6 separate regions of the Homo sapiens genome follow, and regions 2, 3, 4, 5 and 6 are each linked to region 1. The links are contacts of gene promoters, found by promoter capture Hi-C in blood cells and fetal thymus (Javierre and others, 2016). All regions are on one chromosome and are shown on one strand. Each heading gives the region's core, a stretch centred on a gene start or on the middle of the fragment in contact. The rest is flanking DNA. Distances are from core to core; before and after follow the strand shown.

Region 1 (3,810 bases), core at 970-3,469:
GAAAGTAGATTAGTGATTGCCAGGAGTTGGAGGGCATGGCAGGGTGCAGAATGATAAAAGCCTGTACAAGCCTTCTTTTTGGGATGAACATGTTCTGGAATTAGATAGTAGTAATGGTTGCACAACTTTTGGAATAAACTGAAAACCAATGAATTGTACACTCATCTGAAGGGGTAAATATTATGGCATGTGAATTATATCTCAGAAAAATCTATTTTGGCTAAATTACCATTGAAAGTCCTTTTCAAAGAGTCTAATTCAGCTGTTTTTACTTTCAGCATAAAAATAAATGGCCTTTGAAACTTTTTAGAGTACTAGATAAATAGTATGTTTGCATTTGGGAGTCCTGTTATAAAAAATGTATCTTATAACTTGAGTCACACTAAATTATGTGAGATTCTCACATTATAAAGGGTAAGGAAGTGAATCAGAAGCATTGAAAAGGGATTGTGTGTAACATGTTATCTCTTGCAAAAGGAAATTAAATTTTGGGACCCCAAACTGATTTAGCCAAAGGGAAAAGTCACGCTGGGACTGGTCACGCAAATCTGCCTCCCCCTTTTGGTTCCTAAATAAGATTGCTGCAAGATGAAAAGCTACATCTCTCCCCCGTATTTTGCCCACAAGGAAATTCTTAGTGTGCTGTTAAAACTTCATGGCAATGCAAATTGATAGCTTATCTTTACAGGTGGCCACCCCAGCCCGCCAGACACAAATGCCTATCTGATTGTTCCCCTACCCCATTTTGTCTGTTATCTTATGAAAAATGCAGACTCCCACATTCTTCCTCTGCCCATTTTATGTCATCTTATGTAAAAAATGCAGATTCACTGAGCCAGAGAAAGGCAAGAATTACTATTTTCTCCTACCGCCCCCTTACATGAAAACGGTGTGCTTCTCAATATCCCGCCCTTTCCCCTTTAAATTTGGAGCACTCAAAATCATCTTCGAAGAAAGGCATAGACCTGTTTCCTGGGCTCGTACTTAACTTCGGCAAATAAATCTCCTAAAGTGATGGACTCTCTTATAAATTAATCTGTAGCCAAGGCATGTCATCAATATGTCCTACTGTGCCTTCCTACCTCCCATTTATCAACTTACATGAGAAGCACACATCTTACTTGTCATAAATTATTACCTTAGTGAAAACCTGAGGGTGTCAAGAAGTCGAAAAATTTGAGACATTGACGTTGGGGAAGACACCTTTAATTAGAGCACCATAAAATCATGATAGAATGATACATTTTTCCTTGCCTTATATTTTTGGCATGCAAAACAGAAGGAGCTCAAACAATTGAGTGACACATTAGTAAAATTCCTTTCATTCATTTCTACTTACAAGGCACACACCATTGACCTCACCCCGTCCCCCCCTTTAAAACAATATTTGACCCGCGCCCCCCCCCCTTTAAAGCAATCTTTGAAAAGTTAGGAATGAAAGCCGGTTCAGGACAGTACACAGTACACAAATACTGGCTTCCCCTACCTCCACCACAAGCAAGTAAACATCCTAGCACAGTGTAAAAAGGAAGAGGCTGAGGACGAACCACGCGGACATTTGCAGGCACACCCCTTCCCTGCGACCAACAAAAATGCAGTAGCGCAATTACACTTGAAGGAATTGCAGCACTCACAAAAGCACACATTCTGTTCAATGGTTGAGTCCACATAAAGTGACAGTCCGTTTCTAAAAGCATGGCTGTATTTAAAGGACACATGGTCTGTTCAGGTCCGCTTCAGCGAAACCCCAAGCACTTCCGAGAGATCCACTCCCTCTCTCCGAGCAGGTGCCACTAGCTGCTCCGCCGGCGAGCGTAGGAAGCAGCGCGACCAACCAAATCGGTTGCCCACAACAGCCAGGGACGTCAAAAAGGCCAAACTGCGTGGGAAGCGAGCGTGCGCCTCCATCACCACGACAGCACCCGTCTCGAGGCTCCACCTGCCGCTAGTAGGTGGCTCTCAGCTCTGCTCTGCTAAGGGCGAGCTTGAGAACCCGGCCTACAGTTGTGCACCTCCCCCCGCCCCCGCCCCCGCCCCCGCCCCCGCCCACCGCACTTGTAGCCCCGCCCCGCCCAGGGAGCTTCCGTCACAACACTTCCGGCTCCAGCCTCCCAACCGGCCTCCGTCGTTTTTCACTTCCCTCTCCTCAGCTCTCTTCCCTTGCCCCTACCGTCTCCTTTAACACAGTCACGTGAGGGACGCGCGCGGGGGCAGCTGGGAGTAGTACTGCCGGTTGGTCAGGGTTCGGCCTCAACATGGCGGTTCCGGCCGGGCAGTGACCAAGGTTTTGCCGTCCGAAGGACTAAGTGGTGACTGTCGGCGTCTCCACCTATCGGGGTGGAATGCGAGCACGCGGGGACGAGCGCTGAGAAGCGGCGGTGACGGGAAGGGGGGGGTCAGTGGATTGTGCCCCAGAAACCGAAGCGGCGGCGTCTGTTCCTTCTTGTTTCTAGGCTCCAGTGCGTTCGGGGCCCCGCCCGGCCGGGCCAGGCCGGCGGGCGGCGGCGGTAGCTGCTGCAGCCGCAGGATAACCTCGCAGGGTGGGCCGGAGGGCGGGCGCCGCCGCTGCCTGTGCTGCGGCGATGGCCCAGTGTGTACAATCAGTGCAGGAGCTAATCCCGGACTCCTTCGTCCCCTGTGTCGCTGCGCTGTGCAGCGACGAAGCCGAGCGGCTCACTCGTCTCAATCACCTCAGCTTCGCGGAGCTGCTTAAGCCCTTCTCCCGCCTCACTTCCGAGGGTATGTGGTATCCTCCCTTTTCCAGTGGGCTCCCGCAAAGCCGTGGTCGGGAGAAGGAAGTTGCGGGCGGGCAGGGAAGAGAAGGGCAGTGTTTACGTCCTGGAGCCGGTACCGTGGCGTCTGGGGCTGTGGCCCCGCGGTGCTCCGGGGGCGGCTGGAGGAGGGACCGTGAGGTTGTCAAGACAGCGCAGTCCTAAGCTCCAGTTTCTCTGGGCACTTCCTTTCTTCCTCGGACAACCTAGGTCGTTAAGTAATTGGTGCAAAGATAAACGTGAGTCTTCGAGAACGGCATTGAGACTGTTCTCCACGGCCATAGCGAAGGAATTAGGCACTTGCAAAGCAGCTAAGGTAGGAAAATGCTGCCTCTTAGACCGACAGGGTCTGAGTAAGGAAGACCTGTCATCCTCCCTTGGATGTTAAACTGGACTTTGAAAGTAGTTGTGGATGTTATTACATTCTTGTAGCGTTGAGGGTCATCTCTGTCTGAACTACCGTGTAGCTGTTTTACTAATATATTCTTAGCTATACGGTATTTTGCTTAACCTCTCAAGAAAATTAAAAGTATTATAAGAAGAATAAAACTTGAAGCAGCTTTTTGCCCTAAGGAAGAGGAAGCAAGCCCAAGTTGTGGTTAATTTAACCTGGATATTTGGAGTTATCTATAGTTATAGGGATGGAAATGTCTTCTCTTGTTAATGAATGTCTTGTTAAGAAGCTACCCGTTTTCTCCAGTTTTGGATTTTTTTATTAGGAGAAAATAATGTGGTAAAGCTTCAAGCATGTTTTAGCCAATATCTTGCAAACAACAAAGTCCAAGTAAAGTTTTTTTTGTTAAGGTCGGTAAGAACTGAAGGGTTTCATAATAAGCCTGTGTCAGGCAAACGACTGTGATGTTTGTTAGCTTAATATGACTTATCCACAAAAAAAATCAGTGCTGTACCATTTTTGCGCTACCATGTTTTTTGGGAGAATAGTTCCATTATAAATTAGCTTTTGTTTTTAGCGGAGAGAGGGAGCTGTCCAAAAAAACAAAGTTTGGAAACTTTTGGATTTTCTTTAGCCTGTATCGTA
Region 2 (3,810 bases), core at 747-3,246, 920 kb before region 1:
GCACTCGCCTGAGGATTTCTTTCTTCTAGCCCTTCCTTCTTCCTCATTTTATACAGATGAGAAACTAAAAACTGGAGCAAGACCTTCCCTTTTTTGTATTCTAGCAGCTTAGAATAAAGTAAACAAAGCCCACCTCTCAGTCAGGCCAAACCTAGACACTCCCTTTCCAAGGGTCGAAGGTGATAAAACTCAAGGTGTGCTTTGCAGAGCCAAGAACTTCTCTCCTTGAAATGTCAACCCCTGTGCACAACAAGGAAATTTTAGCCCATTATGTTTCTGATTCATTTGCACTTAACTCATCAAGATATTGTTTTGTATGAGCTGTTTGATGTCTGAAGCACCTCATGAGCCTTTTTACGACCCTTTTATTTGAGAAGCTGGGAATTATGCCTAGCCAAGAATAAACAGAACTCAAAGCTTCGAACTCAGCTCAAAACATAGAACCCTTACTTAGGCAATGGCTAAATAGTCTGCTCTTTCTGAGTTTTGCCGTGTTTAATTGGAAAAAGACTCAGAGGAGTATAAGACAAGGAAAAACCAACAATGATTTGAAAATGCTTTGCTTCAGTCCTGGTAGATGCTGTCATTTGGTCTATATTAATTAGCATGGAAAAATATATCATCTTTTGGATCCAGCCTGTTTGTGAAAGCTATAAACATAAGACTATTTTGAAGTGAGAGACAGTGATAAGCAGATTTCATTTTGTTGTTGTTTCCTGAGCAGCGGTTCTTAATCAGATGAATGAACTTGTTTGTACTAGTTAACTTTGCTGGAGTTTAGGAGTTGTATTTAAAACAGATTTTATCCTACAGTGATATTAATTTGATAGGATCCCTGATCTGTAAACCATTGGTTATCTTGGTCTCTCCTGATAAGGAAAAAAAGTGCCGAGGATTTCCAGTTGGTGAGCACATTTGGGCAGAATCTTTCACACGTCACAAATTGCAGATGGGAGGCAGTGATCTCGAACATGCAGTCACATTGCGTGACCATCTGACACCTTCCATTTAGAAAAATAATACTTTCCTCCCAGCATACGCTCCCTGCTGCAACCAGCACCAAAAATTATGCCTGGGAGAGCCGTTCCTCCTAGACCAGGGTCTTAAATATTTCTTAGGCGCCTTTTAAAAGATTCATACTGCAGCAGCACCTAGCTCACACCCTAGTCACCTATAGAAAAATCCCAAAAAGGCAGCTTCTCAATGATGCTGCTGATAACAAAAACATCCACAAAGAACAAAAGGGGTGGGGGTGGGGGAACTGGAAGGAGACAGGAAAATTACACTAGACGCAGTTGTAAGGTGATTTATTCTTGTCTTCTGTGTGATTCGAGCATATTCACGTTAAAGTCAACGGACTTCTTTGTCGGCTCATTTCTAAGCTGCTTCACAGTGGCATAGAATTTCGCAGTCCCCAGGAGGGGGACCGGAGTCCCTGGGATTGTATATAACTTGCTCATCCACCAGTGTTCTGCACTAACCCATGCTCATTTAAGACAAGGAAGAGCATCTCTGCCTCGCCTCCTCTCCTGTACATTTAATGACCCCTGGCAACAGCAACGGCAGTGATTTCCAGCAGACATGTTCAAGCGGAGAGATTTTTAACCAGAAATTCAGAATTCTGATAGCATGTCCAAATGGGCAAAGCTTATTTGCTGTTTAACAAAAGCCATGGCAAATTCGTATCCAATCTCTATACATACGTACACACACATACAAACACACACACACATAAGGTTGCATGACACTGTGTGCACATGCACAAACACACGTACACAAAATGTGACTGACTTTCCCTGTTTCTTTGTCCCAGAGTGAAACTAAACACACTTCTGTGACCTGCTAGGTTGTCAATATCCACCTTAAAAGAATGAAGAGGGCCTGAATAGCTGCGGTCCTAGGAGAACAGACTCAAAACTGTTTCCTTAGAATCCTTTGCGGATATGGGGTAGGGGGAAGGGGTGTTTTCTCCATGATCATAGAACAGAGGTGGTTAAAACACTCAACCACCTGCTTTTAAAAAATATATTACCTTCTTCTCATTTTCACACTGCCCTAGGTTTCGGGGGACTTCCCAATAGCAGCACGTGAATAATTTTAGGGTTGTATATATCAGGATCTCATCGCAATGTTAAAAAAAGAAAGAACCTTTTTTAAAAATAAAAAACAATGTGGCATTTACAGGATTGACACCCTATTCTCTTTTCTTATAGAAAAGAAGTGCAGACGGCTTGATAATTCCTCTAATAATAACACAATCCTTTCCTTTCATAAGGAAGGGAAACTGCTTGAAAAGCTGCCACATCAGAAGGGTAGGCAAGAGGGTTTGTTCTCAAGAAAGCTTGAGTGTCAACTCCAGTAGGAATTCACTTATTTTCCTGAAGCTCTTTAAAAACATCAGAGCAATAGTCATTTGTAAAATCAACTCCACTTCTTTACCTATGGGACAAGAACAGCAAGGGGAGGACTTTAAAAAGAAAAAAAAATGAACAAGAACATGCTGCTTTGACCAGGGTTGCTCCAAAAGCATTCATCGCTCTCTAGGTATTTGTGCAAATATTTTAGTCTGTTGTTGTTTTCTCCAGATCTTTGACTGATAAGACCTATAAGGATAATACCTTTTGTCTTATGAGCTGTCTCTTTCTGTCTCTGTATCTACATGTACATGAATATTAAAATATACATATATATGTTTGTGGACATGCAAGAAATTTAATCAGGCTATCATGTGAAATATCAAATTATAAAGCTTCCTCCTAGTACAAGCTGTCCATAGGATCCACACATGCCATGCTTTGGTAATAGGGTTGAATAGTGCTTACCTGCCCAATGGTTTCTTTAGGTATCACTTATAGGTGTAACCCCAATCCACTTATCTCCCAGATACCTATTCATCTTTATACCATAACTTTAACCTCATCACTAACTCAATGACAAGGTACATTGTATTACCCAGATAAACTAAGCAAATGAAATGCCTGATTCCTAAAAGCTCCAGATTATTAAGGAAGTAACAGCTTGGGCCTGAACTATTGTCTGTGTTGTCCAGATAACAGCTAATTTGATATTGAGCTTGGGAGATCTATTATAACTGGGAAATAATCATGAAAACTTATGATTATTGAGCAGTTTTCATAGGCCACACATGGTTTTAAATAATTTTAATGTGTTTAAGGAAGGCACTATTATCTACCTTAATTTACACATAGAAATGAAGTAATTACTCAAGATAGCATGGCTAATGAGAAGTAGGGTCACTATCTGAACACTGGCAGACCAACTCTACTCCCCATACTCTCCATCTCTACGTAATGTAAGCTGCTTCCTTGTGACTTTTGCTTTAGGGATCCTCAGCTTTCAGTACCTGGAAGGGCTGCCTTTCCAGGTACAATTCTAATCAGAAGTAAACGACATGGGACAGCAGATATTTCTTACACTAGTTGGAGGGAGGTGGCAGTATATTTGGGCTAGATTAAAAACTATTACCTTAATGAGAAAAGCATGTTGTGCTGAGAATGATAGAGCAGAAGAATGGAAGAAATCTTGGTTCTAATGGCATCACTCACCCAAATCTGAAGGCTCTCACTCTCTGAGTATCTAGATATGAGACAAAATAAGTGTCCTTATTATCACTCCGATTTTTTTGTTGTGTTGTACTATTGAACTATTAAATGTGAAGTTGTACAGCCCATTGAATACTAGAGAAAATACATTAGCATCATCAATGTAATATTTGTTAATTCCCCCATAAAGAGGTGTCAATATTTTTGCCTAGTCGTGTTAAGTGGTAAAAGAAGTTATATATCAGAG
Region 3 (3,810 bases), core at 764-3,263, 820 kb before region 1:
CCCATTGTAGGTTTGTCTTATGTGTCTGTCTCAGACCCCAATAGACGGTGACTTCTCTGAATATGTGTAACCAAAGCACTTAACTCAGTGCCTGACCTTGATCCAAAAATGTGAGTTCGTTGTAAATTGCTATTGGTCTTAAATATAATTGAGATAGACACTTAAGGTTGGTGCAGTATAGTGTGAATCAAAAAAGCTAATGTGCAATAAAAATATAGGTAATTTTAAAGATGATTACACACACGCAAACATACACACAACCTGTTGTTGGCCAATAATAATAGTAGCTATCACTGTCTGAGCAACTACCACAAGCTTGACTTATCACTTACAGTGTTTCTAATCTTTACAGCACCCTTTAAGCCTTTTTAAAGATGAGAAAACTGGGACTCAGAGAAGATAAGTAATTTACCCAATTATCTGAATAGTGTTGAGTCAGAGGTCCTTATCACCAGGGAAATAACCCTGCCATTATGAGTATATATTGGAGATGTGGCATTTACAAAAGACAAACTCTTATCTACACCTTCCACTTCTGTTTTATCACACCACAAAAGTCATTAAAAGTTCCTGCCATCTAACTCTTCTTCAGGCCACTCAACCAATGAAGAACGAGGGGAAGACATTAGAAAGCCAGAATTCTATCCTTCTGGTCTACAGCACTTAATTATTAGTTCTGAATTAAGGGGCTAAATAATAAGTTGCTGAGATTTGGCACTATAATATTGACTTACTAAAAATAGAATGAGCCAATGCACTTTAAATAAAGAAAAGAAAGAAAAATAAGAAATTTCTGTTTAACTATGAAAAAAAAAAAAAAACCTTGAAGCTTGAATTTGAACCAAAAGTTGGTTTCCCTGGATTTCTGTGCACTGAAGTACTAAAGGGGTGTCAGATTTGTTTTTGTGACAGTAAAACACTATTCATGTTGGGGATACTTTCAGGTGATTAAATAACCAGGTAGAAGTTGGAATTATAAAAATACCTGTATATTTTAATAACAAAATAAGACCTCTCTAACTGAAAATTTATTCTGTTTATATTTTGTTTCAAGAAAATCAATTTAACAATTGTTAGATCATAAATGTTTGTCTTCTCTCATTCACTTAGAATTCAGAAAACATGTTCATTTTCCATGTCCTTTCCATTGATTTCCAAGATAATTCACAATACAGGCATTACTAATGATGATTTCTTTAAATTAAAACAAAAAAACACTATTTTGATATGGGTAGGAGGATCACTTAACCAGAGAAAGGCTATCTGTTGTAGTACAGATGATACAATGAGTGTGTTCATTTTACTGTAAATAGCAGAGAGGTTTATCTCTTCACAAATAATATTAATGCAAATAGGATTAGAACTATTTGCAACACTAGAAGTAAAGCAGAAAGGTATTATGGAATGCCTACCGTAAAAAGAGAAAATAAATTATAGGGTAATGAGAAAAAGAAGAAAAAACAAGAAGTAAGAAAAATGCAAGGAAATAAGGGGTATCAAACAAGTTATTAAGAATGTGAACTATCTGAAAAAGGAAGAAAAAGAAGATGGGCAAGAAATTTCTAAAGACTGGAAATTAGGTGTTCAACATTTACAAATCAAGATAAGAACAAATCAAGAAACACTTAAATCATGGCATACCCAACCTTATATAATTTAGAGTTATAGACAGAATTTCATTAAAAAGAAAAAAAAAGTCAGTCCTCAAAAGAAAGAAAATATTTTCACAAGAAAAAAATGTCAATCATGGTACCTTACCGCCTATAATACCATTCGGTTCAATAACTATGTATATGTAATCTGAGTTAATAAGATTTTTTGTTGTTTTTTTTTTAAATCCATTGTTGTGCTAGGTAATGCAGTAGTTTCAGAAGTCTCGGAGTTCAAAGGGGACAACCCATTCTGTGAATATAAGGAGATAAACATATAACTGCATTCATTGCAAAATCATCTTAATTCCCATGTAATTTGACCTGGCAAAAGACCTGAGAAGCAAGGAGAACTTCAGGACCTCTGACAGCTTTCTAAATGCAGGCCCATGACTGTGTCACACTGATAGTGGAAACTTGGAGTGATGCATTGCAATTTACTACTAATCAGAAGTTGTGCTATGGAATAACCCCCACATTTGTATTGAACGTATATGGTACATCAAGCTCTGAGCTAAGTTCTGAGATACAGAGTTGAACAAGACAGCCACATTTCTGACTGCATGCAATTTACAGTAAAAAGAGAAAGAGTAAATAGTAACACAAAATAATCACACTGGCAATACATAACCTACAAGAGAAAAGTGGCATGGGCTGGGACACCCTATAACAGACAGCTGTAACCTTATCCGAGTGACTGGAGAAGACTTTCTCTGCAACAAAGGTATAAGATGAGCCTTGAAAGATGAGCCATTCTAAGTAATAGGCCTGGGGAGAAGGCAAAATATGCAATTGGAGAGGCAAAGCTGAGAGAAGACCACCTGCAAAACTCCTGGGCAGAAAAGAGCTTGGCACCTTCCAGGAACTTAAAAAAAAAAAAAAAAAAAGGATGTGTGGCTACATTTGTGGCAAGAGGGGTTGTCCAAATCATACAGGAAGTTGTAGGCCCTGCTAAGGATTATTTACTGCATAGATACATTTTAAAATGGAAAAATCAGCATGTTTTTCAGTTGAACTGAAAAAAGAAGTAATACTATTGTGGAAACACTGCTGCCTTTGAAATCATAAACCTAAATGAGTGGCCTGGCTCCACGTTAGCCGAGTCCTGCAGCAGTAAAATGGGTTAATAATTATAGTTCTAAATACTTAGCAGCATTTGTAGAAAGATCAGCTGAGATTGTAGAAAAACTAAACATAAAATGCTGTTTTAAGTTTGTATATTATTAATTTTAAAAGACATATTTAGCAAAATTTACCTGAATGCACTTTTGCCTATCAAAAAATCACTAGGACATATTCATGATATCACTGATAGCACAGAAATAGTCAGAGACTGTTAACACCAGAGGAATGAAGTTGGAGGGAACCAAAGGTGAAACCAAGGGCATCAGAAGGAAGTGGGAACATTAGAATTTTCGACAGCTCTCAGCAATTTATATTTCATTCTTCAAAAGGAAAATGATGGCCGGTTGAGTTATAAATGTCTTTCATTTTTTCCTTTCATAGAAGAGAGTTCCTCTTCTTTTTAATCTCATAAACTTAAGCTTAGAGGCTTTCTTTTCTGCTGCTCCCAAAGCCTTTCACATGCATATGTCTGGCTTCTTTGCTCCCAGAGCGCCTGTGAGGGGTTGGTAAATTGCACCTGCGCGGGGACTCTGAACTTCCTCAGAGCTCAGCTGGGCCACCGTATGGAGACTGGCTCACTGGAGGCTGCAGAGAAGTGAACTGAAGAATTACAGTCGGTTTCACTTCCCTGCCTTATGTGCCTTCAGGTGCCTCTGAAGACAGGCGAGGCCAGTGAAATGGAGAGGAGGAAGAAGAGAGAAAGCAGCAATATCTGAGAAAAGTCCTTGAAAATGTAGAGGCATTGTTGAAAAATATGGAAAGATGGATGTGCATGTTTGTGTGTGTGTGTATATGTGTGTGTGTGTGTGTGTGTGTATGTCTGTGTGTACACAGTCCAATCACATATTGTTGGGTGCTACCTTCAAATTTTCTATAGAGTGATTTCTGAGATGTGTTTTTTTATCAGATAAAGTCTATTTTGAATGTCAGGGTCAGGGTGGGATGGTCCACAATTCACAATCTGGTGCTGAGTGAGGAATTATTAGGCTGGAGGGTCAATTTGTCACCAGAAAGAAAATAGTCATATTTGTAAATA
Region 4 (3,810 bases), core at 430-2,929, 600 kb before region 1:
CTACTCAGGAGGCTGAGGCAGGAGAATGGCCTGAACCCAGGAGGCGGAGCTTGCAGTGAGCCGAGATTGTGCCACTGCACTCCAGCTTGGGCGACAGAGCGAGACTCCATCTCAAAAAAAAAAAAAAAACAGAGCAGTAGGTATCAGTCCCTCACCCGTTCACCACCCCAATCATGTTAAAAGCAGGCCTTTAAGACCCAGATAGCTGAAATGTTACTTCTGTGACCATCTTTGAACTGACACCTGTGCTGACCTCAGCTGGGCCCCTCCAAAGAAGCAATGCTGTAGTTCCAAAGCCATCCAGAAGTCAAGATGGTTCAGCCTCCCCCAGCTGCCCTCAAGCTTCTAATTTATGTACTTGCAAGCCACATGGCAAGCCAGGCAGAAGGCCATCAGACTCTTTGTCTCCACCTCTCTCCTCTGTTCGTTCTTACCTCTCCTTCCCTCCTGCCTTTCTCCAAAACGTCTTTTCATTTGGTGTGCAACAGAGAAGAGGGAGAAATGTAGAGCTATATCACATAATAGGAAATTGTATCTTGAGAGTATTTTCATCAGACTCCGTAATTGTCATCTTTTGAAAAGAACATGTGTAGGGAAATAGACATTCTCATCCATTGTTGGTGAGATGAAAGAACCTTTCAAGACAGTGATCTGCCATCTTCCAACAAAACAAAAGTATCCAAGCCATTTTGACCAAGCCATTCTACTTTTGGAGCGTTTCTTTAAGAAATCAAGAATACATCCATGAGGATATTAATTGCAGCACTATTTAATATAACAAAGAAATAGATAACTCAATGTCCATCAATTAGAGATGGTTAAATTAGGGCTCCTTTCTACAATGAAGTATTATATATTTGTCAAAAGACCAGATGGAGAACTGTATTAACTCAGTGGAAAGAAGGCTATGACACAGAAAGTAAAAACATTATTCTAGATACACTGTAGAACAGTGTTCTAGAATATCTAGAAGATACAGTGTTCTGCAGTGTATCTACTGTATCTAGAATAATCTCACATTATTTAAAAACAGAGTGCTTACGTATGTGTTTGATATGCATTATTAAAAGTCTGGAAGGCTATGCAGAGTAAATTTTACCCCTAAGGAGTAAAATTTAGGAGAAAGGAGCTTTTATTCCCTATATGAGAGAGCAGCACTTTGGGAAGCGAAGGCAGGTGATCAGTTCAGTCCAAGAGTTTGACACCGGCCTGGGCAACATGGGGAAACCCTGTATCTACAAAAAATATGAAAACTTTGCCAGGCTTGGTGATGCATGCCTGTAGTCCCAGCTACTAGGGAGGCTAAGGTAGGAGAATCACTCAAGCCTGGGGAGGTTAAGGCTGCAGTGAGTTGTGATCACATTCACTGCACTGCAGCCTGAGCAATAGAGCAAGACCTTGTCTCAGAGAAATAATAATAATTTCATTTAATTTGACTGTTGCTTATAGTGAGCATGAATTACTTATTAAGGAGAAATTAACAAACCAACATTTAAAAAAAATTTATCTGCTCTAGAACAGGATAGTAATAGTAGACTCGTCGGTCTACTTAACGTAATGTTGATGCTTATTTTATGACAGTTCAGTATTTAATTGAAAACAGCTCCTTTTTTTCAGAGCCTCTCTTTTTCCCTATACTTGGCAGTTCATATAAAATACGTATCTGGAGATTGTAGAGATGGAAAGGTAGAGAAGAAGGCACAGCAAAAGGAAAGGGATTCACAAAGAAAATAAGGACTTATCCAAATTTTTAAAAAGCCATCAAAATTATGTTTGGGGGAAAATTTAAAATAAGGTGAAATATAGATAATGAAAAATGCCAAATTCAAAGATGCATAATTAGTATGACTATTCTGAGAAATAAATGGCCTCTTCCAGCCTCCAAAAAGGATACTGGAGAAAAGTAAACCAAAATGTTAACAATGACAGACTCTGGATGGTATGACTTTAAGAAACGTTTCATTCCTCACATTCTAAACCTTTTTTAATGAATTGATTAGTTGTATCATGTAAACAGTCACACTTTTATTGAAGGCACGCCTATCATCACCCAACATTTTACCCTCCCAAAATACCAACACAAGTACAGGTTGTAACACAAGGCAGAGCTGTGTCTAGTTTTAGTAGAGATGGGGTTTCACCACATTGTTCAGGCTGGTCTCGAACTCCTGACCTCAGGTGATCCACCCACCTCAGCCTCCCAAAGTGCTGGGATTACAGGCATGAGCCACCGTGCCCGGCCCCTAAACTCACTTTTGAAGCCTGGGTATCTTGAGTCTGAGAAGCCCATTAAGTTTTGAGCCTTCCCTTCTCTCTGCATTAGAGCAACAACTTAAAGATTCCTTTATTTTCACAAGGAATACAGTCTAGGGAAGTAAATTTCAATAGGCTGTTTGATCTGTGACTGGGAGACAGAATATAATATTCATTGAAAGTATTCAGTACCTCAGGGTAAGAATCCATAACATAATGTAGATTGTCTTTATTGCTTAAATTTTATTCATAAAGTTGAAGTGAGAAACTGTAGGAGTTCAACAAAAAAATCAATCGCGGCCCCTCAAATCCCTTGCTTTGGATTTACTGAATTTTTTTTTTTTTGGCCAGAAGGGACTCACACCCAGTATTTTCTGGTGAGAATTTATGTTGGCCTGCTGTTCTTGGTTTGGTTTGTTTGCTAACAGTTGCCAGCTGTGCAAGCTCCCTCTATAATTTCTTGTAACCTTTTCTTTTTTTTAAAGAATAGAGCCTCAAATATATGGTTTCATGATAAGGTCTCAAGTTCTCAAGTTCTATGTAAAGTGGAAAATGTTCAGTACCAATGCACATACCAAGGAAGGGTGGGACTGCTTTACTCCCTTTAACCACTTTTAAGTTAGAAAGATGTCCTTCTGTCCCTGTAAGCCAGGTTTCTCTGAAACTGTCACAGACTCAAGAGAAGAGATGCTAGTCATTTTTTAACTTTGAAATCTATGAGTAAAAATAGCCCCGTCCCTAGATTCTTCTTCTTGAAAGCTTATCAAAAAGGGACTTCTGATCCCTAATCTTATCCTTTAATTCTCGATCACTGCATTTGATAAATAATCTATCTTGACAGTAGATCTGAAGAACTACGGGTAAGTGTTCCTTTACCTAAGAAGTGCTAGTCCTTTTTAATCTAAGTTTCTCCTGTTATCAGAATTCAAAATGTTATTGTTGCTTACTTTGCTTTTATAAAATATTTGACTTCTAGTAGCCCAAGTAGAGAAGAACTTATACTGATATGAGCCATGAGTTTAATATAAATATATGGTTTTTCTTTTAAGTTTTGCAGTTATTCGATAATTTTATAAATGAGGAAACTGAAGCTCAAAGATGTATGTAACTTGTGCAAGGAGAGGCCGCACTGGCGTTAATTGTAGAGTCAATTTCAAGTCTGTTTCCATCAAAAGTTCATGTTTTTTAGTTGTACCATGTTGTTTCTAACAACATAATACAAGAAAACCAATATTAATTGGCCACTTATGATACAACAGATGTTTTCAAGATATTCTTTTCATCCATAACCAAAACCTATTCTACTAGTAGTTATCCCCATTTTTATGGAAAAAAACTGGGGCTTAGAGAGGTTAAAAATGTGCCTATGACATAGTTTGCAGGAGGCAAATCCAGGATTGAACCCCAAGTCTATTTGTCTCCAGTGCCTCTACTTTCTATGCTATCATATATAGCATTTTACACGAATTCACTCATAAGAACAACTTCGAGGTGGGTACTATTATCATTCCCATTTTATAGATGAGAAAAATCAAGTTTCGAGACATTAACTAACTT
Region 5 (3,810 bases), core at 605-3,104, 540 kb before region 1:
CCTTCCCAAGATTTGCTTTCTATGAAAACCTAAGGGAAAAATAATAGAAAGCGAAGTAGAATTTATTAAATTGTTCTTGTAGTACACCTGCAGAATCATTTCTATCCTAATTTCTGCAGGCACACAAGGAAACCAAATTAAGTCTTGGATTTATTGCTTGTGTTGGGCATCTTGATGTGCTACTCTGTAAACTTAAATTTCTGTTTGCTCAAAACTGTTATACAGAGGCATCTTGTATTTCTCACTAAGAAATTTTATAAAAAACAGACAAAGGAGATTAAGGCAATAGATAAATTGGAATGGCTTAAGTAGACCTGGCATTCTTCCACAATAAGTGCTCCTGTTTCTCAGACTAGATTGTATTTTTTGAAAATCCAGCTACACATTGTTTTAGGAGTCATTCCTAAAACATAATGGCACAGAAATATGTAAAAAAAAAAAAGGGAAATATATATTAGGCAAACATCACCCAAAAGAAGGCTGATGTAGCATATCAACATGCAAGGCAAATATAGATAAAGATGGGTAACAAAAGAATAGAAGGAACAAGACATCAAAAAGATATGACAATCATAAACTTTTATGAACCCAATGACAAACCAAAATGAAAAAAACAAGGCAGTTACAAGTTGAAACTGACAAATCCAAATCATAGTAGGCAATTTTAACAAATCTCTATCAGAAACAAACATGTCAAGCAAACACAATTTTACAAGTGAGAAGGATAGAGAACATTTCAACAGTAAAATTAATAAGCTTGTACAATGGGTGAGTATAAAAACCTGCAGTGAACAAAGAGAAAATATACACTTTAAAGTATACATAAAACATTTATGCAAATTGATCACAAATGAGTCACAAAAGAAGTCCAGTAAATTTTGAAGAATTATCTACTTAATACATTTCTTGACTACAAAGCAACAGTTAGAAATCAATACAGTTGTCCCTGGAACAACATGGATTTGAATTGTGTGGGTCCACTTATGCTGAGATTTTCTTCTACCTCTCCCACCCCCGAGACAACAAGACCAACCCCCTTTCTTCCTCCTCCTTCTCAGCCTACTCAATGTGAAGATGATGAGGACAAAGGCTTTTATGATGATCCACTTCCACTTAATGAATAGTAAATATACCTTCCTTATGATTTTCTTAATAACATTTTCTTTCCTCTAGCTTACATTATGGTAAGAATATAGTATATAATATACATAACAAAGAAAATATGTATTAATTGATCGTTTATGTTATTGGTAAGGATTCTGGTCAAGAGTAGGCTATTCGTAGTTAAGTTTTGGGGGAGTCAAAAATTACATATGAATTTTCAACTACACGGAGGGTCAGTCCCCCTAACCTCCACATTGTTCAAGGGTCAACTATAATTGGAAAAAAATCAAGATGTTTATGTTTTAATACATCCCTCATAACTCATCAAAGAGGGACTCATAATAGAATTTACAAATTATTTTGGTTACATCAAAATATTTTGATATATCAAAACATATAGGATGGAGCCAAAGTGGTTCTTAGAAGGAAATTTGGAGCCTATAGATACATTTATTTTTTAAAAAAAAGAATAAAAGGGGTTGAAAATAAACTAGTTAAAAATTCAGCTCAGAAGTTAAAAGACAATAGAGTAAACCTGAAGAGAGTGAAAGGTAAATAAATTATTGGAAATTAATAAAATAGAAAATAGAGGAAATGTACAACCAAACCAAAAATTTGTTCTCCCCAAACAACTAACATATTCATAACTCATAATTTTTAAGATGACTTTTACAGTAATCTTGTAGACACTTAAAGTTTCATAATGGAATGTCAACTCAATCTTTCTTCATATTGTATATATTGTAGCCCCTGTTGCTGGACCAACCAATAAAAGTTTCCATTTTATACCAAAGGGAAAATGTGAGATGTTTGTACTCGAGTAATTAAAATGGAATACGTGTTGGCTTAAATTAGCATCTACATATGTATGAAGCAATGTTCCCACTGGTGTACGTTACAGATGACTAAAATACATTTGGCTGGGGGTCTCAAACATCAATAATGGATTTCTCAGGGCATAAGAAAATTTTACATTCCTGTACCCACTTTCAAGAAAATAAAACTTACTGCCACAAGTTAGATTTTATCTTATGATTTCCCTCCCCCTTCCCTCCCTCCTCTCACAAGCCTAACTCCCTCATTTTGGATTGAAGTTTTCTGCATATCCTTTACTGTTCTGATAACCCCCAGCAACACAGTTCTTCCCCTTGTCTATAGCTCGGTTTTTGCCTCAGGCACCCCACAGCTCTCCACTTCTTTTGCACCACCTTGACTTTCCTTTTCCATTTTCCCCATTTTCAGGTTTTCTCTCTCTCAGCTCTTATCCTGTCTTTTAAACTTCTCTATTGCTTTAGTCAGAAAAGTATAATAGGACATTCTCATCTTTACTTCTCAGGGAGTCTGATGCGAATTCATCCCAGAAGATAGTAACCCTATTTCCCTTGTCATTGTTTCATTTTATACCTTGACCATATAATGTAAAGAAAGCAGAAAGTCCCACTTAGCCAACTGCACTCTTCTAAGTGTTTTTTTAATCCTGAGAAAAGGTGATATAAACTGCTTACTGAGGGGGCTCCCTGAAAAACCAAAGGCACTAAATCTCACATGTACGTCAATGAGACCCAAGAGTGCCTACTTCAAATAAAAGTAAATTAACTACGTCAATGCATATCTTGACATCAAAGAGATTTACTAATTAAAAAAAACCTTATTAACTCTAGATGGAATTATAGCTAATATGAAAAGGCCAAATGCTTTATTAAATTACTGCCATCTTTCCTCCAGATGTGGGATTTGCCTTTCGACATTGCACAAACCCAGTGACAACACTTTACAAAATTCTGAAAGCACCAAATGCACCAAATGGATTTCATCAGGATTTTTTCATTTTTACATGAAATAAGCTTTAAATAAGTACTCTTGTCATCTGCCTTCCACTTCCTGATTTGGTCTGACCTACTGATGTTTTCTGGGCAGAATAACAGGACATAAATAGGAAATCTTTGACTCCCTCAATATCTTGAGTAATTGTTATTTATAAGTACAAATAATATCAGAGGATTCTATATTAAAATAAAATTTTAGGAGCAACTTTCTAGATCTTCAAATAATTTTGAAATTAATACCTTCCCTCACTACTGGAAACGTAAAATATTGTAATATTGAACATGCATTCCTCTGGAGAGTTTCATTCCCTCCTTCCAGTAGAGTATCAGTGTATTAAAAGATCAACCCCAAATAAAATGAGAAGCAATTGAAAAATTCATTACCTTTCTTTATAGACAGGTATGAATCATATAATCTAGACTAAATGAAATTGACGAGACCTTGGAAAGACACATGGCACCAATATTTAAATTGTCTAGGAATAGTGATAATTTATACTTCTTGGAATAAAACTTGGTAATAATGTCTTTCTATGATCTACGCAGTGATTTACCACATCAGAGTATAATTTTTTCTTAAGTTCAATAGTAATCTTAAAATTCTATGCTACTACAAATACATTTTTGGGCTTAACATATTTGTGCATAAAACTTCTTTTCTATAGTTAGATTAATTTATTTAAGGCAGTTTTTCCAAAATTAAATTGCTGAATAGGCATTTAAAACCTCATTGAAAATAGCCAAATGCAGATATAAAGATTATACCAATTTACATTTCCACGAGCAAGGTATGAGAAAACCCATTTAATCATATCCTTGACATCCAGCCTGCTCTTGATGTAAAAAAAAAAAAAAAAAAAAAAAAAAAAAAAGAAGTTTC
Region 6 (3,810 bases), core at 636-3,135, 520 kb before region 1:
CTCAGCAACACAATTTTTAAGAACTTCAGGAACCTAAGATTCAGAAAAATTGACTTGCCTGAAGACTCGTACCTAGTAAATGGTGGAGTGGAATTTCCAGCCAACCTTCTGACTCTGAAGACTGACCTCTTATCTCAAACTGGGCTACCTCCTGGTACTAAAGGAGAGAAGGGTTGAAGTTGTTCTGACATCTGCTCTAAATAGGTTCACTGTCTCTCTGAGAGCTTGAGGACTGGAAAGTCAATATTTTAAAAACAGTGTAGACACCAAATTAAGTGCTGGCCTCATCCATCATACATACAACTTTCTGCTTGCCAAAGGAGTGGCTGAAAAGAGGCAAGAGGCAGTGGGGAAGAAGAGGTTACAGAACAGGAGAAAAAAAACATTGGGGTTTGAGGGCCTAGTAACGTAGATGTGTCTGTTGAGATGACTCTTCAGGACATTTGCCATCCTTAGAATGAATATTCACTACACAATATATAAAGAACTCTCCAATTCTTTGCATTATACATGCCACTCCTGAAGTGCCAGGTAGATAGATGTGTTCAATATTACATCCTTGATGGTGAAATTTGCCTTTGTATGATAAGATAAATACAAAATAATTGAGCCTTTATAAATGTTGCCCCACAAGTTTTTCTGGAGAACCCAGAGAAAGGTACTCTAGCAATTCTCCTTGGGAGATTTGATGAGATGTATCTCATCAGCTGAGGTCTAAGCCCAGTCAGCAGTGCAATTAAGATCAGATATTTAAACTGATTGATCATCAGTCTTATAAACTGTTGACTTTAGAACTGGGTTCAGCAAATGTGCTTAGGACCAAGGAGAGGATGGAGAAAATACTAATCCTCCACCCCCAACCATCCTCACTCAAAACTGGATGGGTGGGAAATTGTTCATTTTCTCTCTCCTCCTCATTTCATCTTGGATAGACCCTGAAGGCTTGTGTTAGAGTAGCATTCTTACAACCTTTTTGCTTCTATGCCTCCTAAAAGATTTGGTGAAACTCTGTCCCTAAGCACATTTTTCAGTTAAATGCTAAAACTTTTCATTCTAAGTTTAAATGCTTGCAGGGGATGTAATTTCTCAGCATATTGTAACTATTCATATTTTAAAGTATTACATCATTCTAAAAACTCTAGTAAAATATATATTTGATTTCTAATATCATTTGTTTAAAAATTCATGAGATTCAAGAATCAATCTTTTGAAAGTTAAACATTTTACACCTTTTCTTTATCTCTTTAAATTCTTACTCCATTTCTCTTCCGCTGTATAGAATTCTGTCTCAGTGTAATATATTTTTATGCTTGAAAGTATTCTATTGATCACTCTGCCATACTCTCTGTAACCAAAAAAAAAAGTATATAGATTGAAATCTAGTATTTCGTATTTATTTTGATCATAAGACTTTCAATATTTAATGATTTCTGGTTGTTTTTAAAACAAAGAATTGGAAATTACCTGACTTAACAGAAATAGTTGTTACCTAAATAGTGGAGACTTTAACCCTGCAACACGAATCAATATTTTTGTTCCTTTGTTTGTTTCTCTACCCAAGGTCTTTTCACCCTCAGGCAATGCATCTTAGAAAGATGTAGAGAAGGTAATACAAGTGCATTACTTTTGTAAAGTGAGTGAAGAACCATTGTGAAGGGGAGATGGTGAACGACAGGTTCCTTCCATCACAGTGAAGGTCATCACAGGATGGATGTCCAACGCAAGCGTGGACCCAAGCCCATTAATTTTTAAACAAGAGTACGTTTGGAAATTTCAAATGTAGAAACTGATTCCTTTACAGTTGTGATGATGAGACCCTTGGGAAGTGTTAGCTTTGCCCCAAACATGTACCCCAGTTTAAAGAATGCTGGTCTAGCACAATAAAAGATGTGTTAATGGCCCTGTTTGCTGAAAGGAAAAGGAAGACCAAGGCTGCATGGAAAGGCAGGGAGAGGGAAGAAAAAGAGTAGGAGACTGCTAAGTAGGTAGAACAGGAGCAGTGACCGTCTCTCCTTCCTGGCTGTGCATAGGAATCAGATCAGATTCTAAGTCCCGGATGTGTTGGGACTGTGGGAAATTTGGTCCTTACTTTGTGCTCAGAGGCTTCTGCAGCTTTATCATTTACTGGCCTCTAGGAGCAAAAACATGGACACTTAGGCCCCAGGGAGGCTCCAAGTGGCTGTTTGTAAACATCAGAGGTCTTTCTCGGATCCATGTTTTATCATTGAAATTGAAGTAAGTTCTCAAAATCTACTTTGTAATTGATGTCTTTTTCTTTTTCTTTTCTTTTCTTTTTCCCAAAGTAACTTAGTTTTGCTCTTGGAAGATGTTCGGTGTTCATCTTGTGGCTTCATTTCTCCTGGCATTCTGTATTTTAAGAGAGTACACATGGCCAGGGTGGGGGGAATGATAATTTAAAGAATACTGGATTTGGAGCCAAGAGACCTTCGTTCTGTTAGAGGTACTGCCATTTCATAGTCATGTGATCTTGGTCAGGTCTTGTAATCCCTTTGATTTGTAGTTTTCCCGTGTAGGAAAACTAGACGTTATACTTGCCCCTATTCTTCATTCAGTAAATTGTTTATTCAGTCAACTAACACTTAACTAAGCCCCTGCTATGTGACAAGCCCTGTTACAGGTGTTGGGACTATAGCACTGAACAAATCAGACAAAACTGTATGTCTTTGTGGTGCTTACATTCTACTTATTATAGGAATTAAATGCAATAATATATGTCAAATACATGTGTGAGATGGCTGTAGTAGATACGGATCAGTTGAGGGAGGCTTCAGAGTATAGCATATCATTTAGGTAGCAGCAGGTTTTATTGTCTTTGTACAGAAGAAGAAGCTGAGAGAAATGCTCTGGGTGACTTGAGTGTGTTTCGTTTTGAGTATTCCAGGTTATTGATCTGGTAATCCGCAGGTTATAGAAAGGTGGCGAAAGGTCTTTATCAGACAGAAAGTGTTATAAACTGACTAATCTAACCAAGATTGGGCTTCGGAGGGACTGGAGGAGTTTGGAAAGGAACTTTACTTTTTTAAAAAAAGAGATGGGTTCTCGTTTTGTTGCTGAGGTTGCCCTCAGACTCCTGGGCTCAGATGATCCTCTGGCCTCAGCCTCTCAGGTACCTGAGACTATGTAGGCCTGAGCCACCACATCTGGCCAGGAACTTTTAATTTAATCCAGAATCACAGGTGAGTTTTACCAAATGGTACCGAAACAGTGAGCTTAGACACTTACATCTTTTTTTTTTCTTTTTGTGTCGCCCAGGCTGGAGTGCAGTGGCTCAATCTTGGCTAACTGTAACTCCTGTCTCCTGGGTTCAAGCAATTCTCCTGCTTCAGCCTCCCAAGTAGCTGGGCTTACAGGCATGCACTACCACGCCCAACTAATTTTTGTATTTTTAGTAGAGATGGGGTTTCACCATATTGGCCAGGTTGGTCTTGAACTCCTGACCTCAAATGATCATCTGCCTGCCTTGGCCTCTCAAAGTGCTGGGATTACAGGCATGAGCCACCACGCCCAGCCTTTTTTTTTTTTTTTTTTAACCACGTACTCATCATTATTTTCACTGATGGATGATCATTTTTTTGTACCTATAGTTGTATAATGGTTAGCAGGAAAGAAGTGCCTAGTATAATGTTATACACAAAGTGAGTGATTTAGGCCGGGCGCAGTGGCTCACGCCTGTAATCCCAGCACTTTGGGAGGCTGAGGTGGGCGGATCACGAGGTCAGGAGATCAAGATCATCCAGGCTAACACGGTGAAACCCTGTCTCTACTAAAACTACAAAAAATTAGCTGGGT

Evidence for each region. The method cuts DNA at HindIII sites, captures the fragments that hold promoters and counts their contacts. A CHiCAGO score of 5 or more calls a contact.
Region 2: a fragment that was not itself captured here is called in contact with the fragment with the promoter of TRAPPC8 in region 1 in 1 of 17 cell types (total B cells); the score reaches 7.8 in total B cells.
Region 3: a contact is called between a fragment that was not itself captured here and the fragment with the promoter of TRAPPC8 in region 1, in 2 of 17 cell types (total B cells and naive B cells). The highest score is 5.4, in total B cells.
Region 4: a contact is called between a fragment that was not itself captured here and the fragment with the promoter of TRAPPC8 in region 1, in 1 of 17 cell types (total CD4 T cells). The highest score is 5.1, in total CD4 T cells.
Region 5: a fragment that was not itself captured here is called in contact with the fragment with the promoter of TRAPPC8 in region 1 in 2 of 17 cell types (naive CD4 T cells and non-activated CD4 T cells); the score reaches 6.7 in naive CD4 T cells.
Region 6: a contact is called between a fragment that was not itself captured here and the fragment with the promoter of TRAPPC8 in region 1, in 4 of 17 cell types (non-activated CD4 T cells, total CD4 T cells, naive CD4 T cells and 1 more). The highest score is 6.9, in non-activated CD4 T cells.

Annotation. Positions count from the first base shown.
Region 1 is chr18:31,941,537-31,945,346 of GRCh38, reverse strand. TRAPPC8 (trafficking protein particle complex subunit 8) reads left to right here and starts at 2,219. Exons shown (of 29, transcript NM_014939.5): 1 at 2,219-2,739. The coding sequence starts at 2,583. RefSeq lists enhancers at 2,235-2,444, 2,546-3,324 and a silencer at 2,495-2,614. The HindIII fragment of the contact is 12,839 bases long and covers 1-3,512 here.
Region 2 is chr18:32,865,774-32,869,583 of GRCh38, reverse strand. It overlaps LOC105372058 (a long non-coding RNA gene), which reads right to left. Exons shown (of 10, transcript XR_935361.2): 3 at 3,487-3,597. Among named protein-coding and RNA genes, the nearest start is that of KLHL14, 95 kb to the right of the region's middle. The HindIII fragment of the contact is 694 bases long and covers 1,650-2,343 here.
Region 3 is chr18:32,760,120-32,763,929 of GRCh38, reverse strand. The region is part of intron 2 of KLHL14 (kelch like family member 14); the gene reads left to right. Among named protein-coding and RNA genes, the nearest start is that of KLHL14, 11 kb to the left of the region's middle. The HindIII fragment of the contact is 2,364 bases long and covers 832-3,195 here.
Region 4 is chr18:32,543,293-32,547,102 of GRCh38, reverse strand. No RefSeq gene overlaps it. Among named protein-coding and RNA genes, the nearest start is that of GAREM1, 74 kb to the right of the region's middle. The HindIII fragment of the contact is 2,670 bases long and covers 345-3,014 here.
Region 5 is chr18:32,482,148-32,485,957 of GRCh38, reverse strand. No RefSeq gene overlaps it. Among named protein-coding and RNA genes, the nearest start is that of GAREM1, 13 kb to the right of the region's middle. The HindIII fragment of the contact is 2,192 bases long and covers 759-2,950 here.
Region 6 is chr18:32,463,727-32,467,536 of GRCh38, reverse strand. All of the region lies in intron 1 of GAREM1 (GRB2 associated regulator of MAPK1 subtype 1), which reads left to right. Among named protein-coding and RNA genes, the nearest start is that of GAREM1, 5.2 kb to the left of the region's middle. The HindIII fragment of the contact is 6,104 bases long and covers 1-3,810 here.